2 separate regions of the Homo sapiens genome follow, and region 1 is linked to region 2. The links are contacts of gene promoters, found by promoter capture Hi-C in human tissues and cell types (Jung and others, 2019). All regions are on one chromosome and are shown on one strand. The core of a region is centred on a gene start or on the middle of the fragment in contact, and the rest is flanking DNA. Distances in the headings are between cores, read along the strand shown.

Evidence for each region. Contacts are between HindIII fragments. The study calls those that stand out against the background at their distance.
Region 1: a fragment that was not itself captured here is called in contact with the fragment with the promoter of TRMT10B in region 2 in 2 of the 25 tissues and cell types used here (H1 embryonic stem cells and psoas muscle).

The regions. Positions count from the first base shown.
Region 1 is chr9:37,792,256-37,795,814 of GRCh38, reverse strand. All of the region lies in intron 2 of LOC105376037 (a long non-coding RNA gene), which reads left to right. Among named protein-coding and RNA genes, the nearest start is that of DCAF10, 6.8 kb to the left of the region's middle. The HindIII fragment of the contact is 4,652 bases long and covers 1-3,559 here.
Region 2 is chr9:37,752,346-37,755,614 of GRCh38, reverse strand. It overlaps TRMT10B (tRNA methyltransferase 10B), which reads right to left and starts at 1,810. Exons shown (of 9, transcript NM_144964.4): 1 at 1,763-1,810. RefSeq lists a silencer at 1,666-1,900. The HindIII fragment of the contact is 14,807 bases long and covers 1-3,269 here.

The sequences.
Region 1 (3,559 bases), core at 760-3,259, 40 kb before region 2:
GGTGTAAGTCATGTTACTGTTTTTCCTCAGGTATACTGTTTTCAGCCTAGAGCAAAAGTAAACTTTTAAGTGGTCTCTGCAGGGATATCTGACATTAAATGTTCATAAAGCTGGAGAAATACCTAGCAAGTTTAAAAGTTAGTGGAGCTTTCCCTGGTACAGAAACTCCTTCACAGAATTCACACTATGCCTTTGATATACCGGTTTCTAGGTTCTTGGGATCTGAGTGTGTATGTGCATTTGCACAAATTTGGTAGTCTGAATCTGGTGTGTTTGATGCTATGACAAATTATGGACAGTGAGCTATGGAAACACAGATGAGGGACAGTTCAGCAGAGGGTCAGAAGATACTCCCTGGAGGAGCTGGTGATCAAGCCAGTTTTTAAGGAGAGGTTAAGCAGAGGGAGGGAGACTGGATTGTTAAGCAGGGTGCATACATGGCATGAAGAATGGCACAGATCAGGGCATGTTTGGGAAATTTACAAGGGATTTGGTGTTGCTCAAGAAATGGAAGTCAGGGAGAAGCAGGATGAGGTGGCAAGGTGAGCAGAGGAGAGGGTCACAGAGAGTCTTTTTTCCCTGTAGGTGATACGATGCTCTCAGAGGGCTTTCAGGCAGGAGAAAGGCATGGTCAAAGCTGTGTTTGTTATTTGTTTTGCAACAAGTTTTTCCATATATTTGCCCCATCAGGCTGAATTGTCATCAAGAAGACACCTATTTTGCCTGTCTCCATATTATGTTTTTAGTTATGAAAAATTTTCAAACAAAATTAGAGAGAAGAGTATTTAAAAAAATAACTATATGCCCATCATCTAGATTCCATTATTAGGATTTTGCCACATTCAATTCATCTCTCTCTCTCTCTCCTTTTTCTGTGAAAATAATTCTTTATTGTGGTAAAATATATATAAACATAAAATTGACCATTTTAATCATTTTTAGATATACAGTTCAGTGATATTAGGTACATTCACATTGTTGTGCATCCATCACCACCATCCATATCCAGAACTTTTTCATCTTCCCAGACTGAAACTCTGTACCCGTGAAACAATGACTCTCACTGACCCGTCTCTCCAGCCTCTGGCAACTAAATATCAACTTTCTATCTCCATGGTTTGAAGGCATTTCATGTAAATGGAATAATACAATATGTGGCCTTTTACTTAGCGTAATATTTTCTAGATTAATTTTACATTGTAGCACATTTAGTCCCTTTTAGGTTTAAATAATATTCTATTGTATGATATACCATGCTTTGTTTATTCACTTATCAGTTGCTGGACATTTGCATTACTTATACTTTTGGCTATTATTAATCATTATGCTATGAACATTCATGTCTAAGTTTTTGTGTAAACATAAGCTTTCAATTTTCTTGGGTATATCCTAGAAGTAGAATTGTCTGCCTGCCTTTCTTTCTTTCTCCCTTCCCTTCCCTCCCCTCCCCTCTCTTTCCTCCTCCCTCCCCCCCTTCCATTCCCCTCTCTTCCCCTCCCTTCCCCTCCCGTCCCTTCTCTTTTCAGAGATGGGGTCTCTGTTACTCAGGCTGATCTCAAACTCTTGGGCTCAAGTGATCATCCTGCCCAGGCTTCTACAGTGCTGGGATTACAGGCATAAGCCACCACACCCCTGGCTGGAATAGCTATGTTATATGGTAACTTTATGTTTAACTTTTTAAGAAGCTGCAAAACTGTTTTTCAGTTTTCAAAGTGGCTGTACCATTTTATAATTCTACCAGCAAGATGAGTGTTCTGAAATTTCTATATCCACAACACTGGTTATAATGTCTTTTTGATTGTAGCCATCCTAGTGGAGGTGAAGTGATATCTCATTGTGATTTAATTTGAATTTCCCAGATGACTAATGATACTGAGTATCTTTTCATATGCTTCTTGGTTGTTCATATATCTTCTTTGAATAAATGTCTGTTTGGATCCTTGGCCCACCTTTAAATTGGGTCATCTATCTTTTTATTATTGAGTAGTAAAGTTCTTTATATATTCTAGATACATGTCCCTTATCAGACATATAATTTTTAAATATTTTCTCCTATTCAGTGAGTTATCTGTTCTAATTTTGATAAAGTCAGATTTTTCAATTTTTTCCTGAATGTGCTTCTGGTGGTATAATATCTAAGAAACCACTGTCAAATCCAAGGTCACAAAGATTTGCCTCTGCATTTTCTTCTAAGAGTTTTATAATTTTAGTTCTGAGATTTAGGCCTTTCAATCATTTAATGTTTTTATATAGTTTAAGATAGGGATCCAACTTCATTCTTTTGCATGTGTATATCCAGTTGTGCTTACACCATGTATTGAAAACATTATTCTTTCCCCATTGAATTGTCTTGGCACCTGTGTAAAAAATCAGCTGATTGTAAGCATAAAGGGTTTTAAAAAAATATTTTTTCCCATCTCTCAACTTTTAGCTGAAGATGAAGTTTTATTTCTGTATCTTAATTCTATTCCATTAATCTATATCTATCCTTATACCTATACAACATTGTCTTGATTACTGTAGCCTTGTAGTAAGTTTTGCAATCAGAAATATAAGTTATTTTGTTCTCACAAAAGAAGAACTTTGTTCTTCTTCAAGATTATTTTGGCTATTCTGAGTCTCTTGAATTTCCATACAAACTTTAGGAGCAATTTGTCATTTTTTGCAATGAAGGCAGTTGGGATTTTGAGAAAAATTGGATTGAATCTGTATTTCAATTTTGGGAATAGTGTTATCTTAGCAATTTTTTTTTAAATTATTGTTATTTGTGGAGATATGGTCTCACTTTGTTGCCTAGGGTGGTCAGGAACTCCTGGGCTCAAGCAGTCATCCTCCCATGACCTCCTATTAATAATATTAAATCATCTGAACCATGAAAATGGGATGGGGTGCCTTTTCAATTATTTAGATCTTTGTTAATTTCCTTTAATAATATTTTGTAGTTTTCAGAGTTTAAGTTTGACATTTCTGACCGGGCACAATGGCTCATGCCTGCAATCCCAACACTTTGGGAGGCTGAATGTGAGGATTGCTTGAGCCCAGAAGTTCAAAATCAGGCTGAGCAACATAGTGAGACTCCCATCTCTACAAATTAAAAAAAAAAAAAAAAAGTTTGACATTTCTTTTGTTGAATTAATTCCCAAATATTTTCTTTTCTTTGATGCTATATAGTGGAATTATTTTTGAAGTTTTATTTTTGGGTTGTTCATTTCAAGGGTACAGAAATATAATTAATTTTTGTATATCCTATAAACTTGCTGAACTTGTTAGTGTTAGTTCTAATGGTTTTGTGTGTGTGTGTGTGTTTGTGTGGGTGGGTGGGTGCCTTAGGATTTTCTATATACCAGATCACATCACGTGCAAATATAGATGGTTTTAATTTTTCCTTTCCTATCTAGATATCTTTTATTGCTTTTACTTACCAAATTACCCTGGACAGAACCCCCAGTATAATGTTGAATGGAAATGGCAAGAGCAGACTTCCTTGTCTTATTCCCGATCTTAAGTGCAAAGCTTTCAGTCTTTCACTATTAAGTGTTATCTGTGGGTTTTTCATAGA
Region 2 (3,269 bases), core at 561-3,060:
TCTTTTGTATCTTTGTATCTCTGTTGTCTGGCATAAGGCCTGGCACAGAATGGAAGCTCAATAAATACTGATTAGGTGATTGCCACCTAGGGATCCTCAGAAAGCAAAGGTGAAGTTGGACATCACAGAAGCAGAGATCTGCTCAATCTGTGTGGGACATTATCTATGCCCAAATTTAGCATTTTTTTTTGGACATAGGAACTACCATTTTAACCATTTGTAAATGTGCAGTTAAAAACACACCTAAGGGCATCCACATTGTGTGCCACCATCACCACTGTCCAGCTCCAGAGCTTGTTTGTCTTCCTAAAGTGAAACTAACTTTAAAAAAAAAAAAAAAAAAAAAGACGGAGTCTTACTCTGTCGCCCAGGCTGGAGTGCAGTGGCGCGATCTCGACTCACTGCAAGCTTTGCCTCCCAGGTTCACGCATTCTCCTGCCTCAGCTTCCTGAGTAGCTGGGACTACAGGCACCCGCCACCATGTCCGGCTAGATTTTTTTGTATTTTTAGTAGAGACGGAGTTTCACCATTTTAGCCAGGATGGTCTCGATCTCCTGACCTCGCGACCCACCTGTCTGGGCCTCCCAAAGTGCTAGGATTACAGGCGTGAGCCACCACACCCGACCCTGTGACCTTTATATAACTCTCCCTTCCCCAATCCTGGCAGCACCTTTGTATTTCCTATCTTATGAATTTGAGTGCTGCTCTGGTTTGAATGTTTGTCCCCTTCTCACATTCAGGTTGAAACTTAATTGCCATTGTAACAGTATCAAGAAGTGAGATTTCATTTATTTTTCATTTCTTCATTAAACATCTTTTCTGAGCCTCCAATTATGGGTCCGATGCTGAATATTCATTACTTTCGTTCAACAAAGCTACTAAGCACCTGACATAATAGTACATCCTGGGGACTTGGGGATGACATTCGTTCTGCTTTCATGGGGCTCCAATTATCTGACCCTGCCTTGCATGACAGCTGTCTACCTGTTTCCCCACTAGATTATAAACCCAGGGAAGAATTGGAAGAATTCACCTGTACACCCTCAGTACCCGAGCCCTGTGAGCATCCTAAGTATTTGATGATCACCACTCTTCTGCTTAGAACCCTGCAGTACTCTCCATTTCACTGACAGTAAATAGCCCAAATCCATACAATGACCTATGCAGATCACTAAGGTCTACCTTTCTCGTTTCCTCTGCACTCCGGGGTCTATTTGCTGTTCCTCAAACATACCCTTCAAGGCCTTTACATTCGCCGTTCTCTTTACCCTCAATGCTCTTCCCTAAGACACTCACAGACTACCTTCCTCTCCTCATTCATATTACTATCCAACATAACCTATTTTACTTGTTGTCGGAACCTCCTCCATCCCTTCAATGTAGGCAAGTGTTGTTTGCTTATAGATGCTTAATAAATACTTGCTGAGTTCATAAATCCTCCACTCCGCACCCCCACCCTAGGTTGGCAGAGGCCTCAGACCTTTGCTAGCCTAACTCCCACCTGATGGGTACCTACACTGCCGCTAAGTGATGGCACATCGAATTCAGCCTGAGAGCACCCCGCCTGCGGGTCTCTCCCGGCCCACAGGCTGAGCGTGCGAGTGGAAGCAGGAAGGGAAAGTATCAGGAAGGTGGAGTACCACAGGCCACATGACTGCTAAACGCTGCTTTCTCAACGTCCGCCCCACCCGCGAGGGAGGCGGACGTCCCAGGACAGACCCCGCAGCCCCCAGCCAGCCCCCTTAACCAGCGGACAGCGTACCTGATCCCCTCACCCCCACGCAGCGGCAGCGGCGCGCATCGGATCCCCCCCGCCCCCGGCCTCGCTTCCGCTTCGTAACTCCGCTCCGAATGGCATTCTGGAAATTGTAGTTTTTCACCTGCAGGGTGCTCGTGGGGCCGAGCCGGAGCGGAGGCTGCGGCTTCTACTCCCAGCCCTGGCGGTAGGGAGCTGCGTCCTGCTGTGGTGGTTGCCCACCTTCTCTGAACCCCTGTCTCCCCGTCTGCTGGACAGCTATTACAACCCCAACCCTTTACCAACTTCACAGGGCTCCTACAGGTGCTCTGTTGGTTGTCAAGGGCTGGACATTGCGAAACTGGGGTGTGTGAAGCAAAAAAATTCTAAGGCCCGCACCCGACTGAATGGACCTCCCTCTCTGCCGAAGGAAACCTTAAAAACTAGTTATGGCCATTACAGGAAGCGGGAGTGGAGCGGGGCGGTTGGACATGCACTGATATTATATCCCATCCCTTGCGGAGTTTAGGCCCAACGGGGACTGACACAACAGAATCTTTGTAGAACTAAAATATCAAATTCCAACCTGATATCATATTGTGTCCGGAAATGGTGGATTCTTGGTCTCACTGACTTCAAGAATGAAACCGCGGACCATCGCGGTGTTACAATTCTTAAAGACTGCGTGTCTGGAGTTTCTTCCTTCTGGCGGGTTCATGGTCTCGCTAGCTTCAGGAGTGAAGCTGCAGATCTTCGCAATGAGTGTTAAATCTCTTAAGAGGGCACACCTGGAGTTGTTCCTTCGCTCTCGGTGGGTTCGTGGTCACACGGGCCTCAAGAAAGAGCTGCAAATACAGATCTTCACGGCGAGTGTTATAGCTCACAAAGACAGTAGGGACCCAAAGGGTTAGCAAGCAACAAGATTTATTACAAAGAACAAAGCACCCACAGTCCAGAAAGGCAACCCCAACGGGTTGCCGCTGCTTGCTCGGGCAGCCTGTTTTTATTCTCCTATCTGGCCCCACCCACATCCTGCTGATTGGTCCACTTTACAGAGAGCCGATTGGTCTGTTTTACAGAGAGTTGATTGGTCCGTTTTGACAGGGTGCTGATTGGTGCGTTAACAATCCCTGAGCTAGACACAAAAGTTCTCCAAGTCCCCACTAGATTAGCTAGACACAGAGTGTTGATTGGTATATTTACAAACCCTGAGCTAGACACAGAGTGCTGATTGGTGCATTTACAAACCTTGAGCTAGATACAGAGTGCCGATTGGTGCATTCACAATCCCTTAGCTATACATAAAGATTCTCCAAGTCCCCACCAGATTAGCTAGACACAGAGTGCCGATTGGTGCATCCACAAACCCTGAGCTGGACACAGAGTGCTGATTGGTGCATTTACAAACCTTGAGCTAGATACAGAGTGCTCATTGGTGTATTTACAATCCCTTAGCTAAACATAAAGGTTCTCCAAGTCCCCACTGGACTCAGGAGCCCAGCTGGCTTCATCCAGTGGATCCAGCACTGGGGCC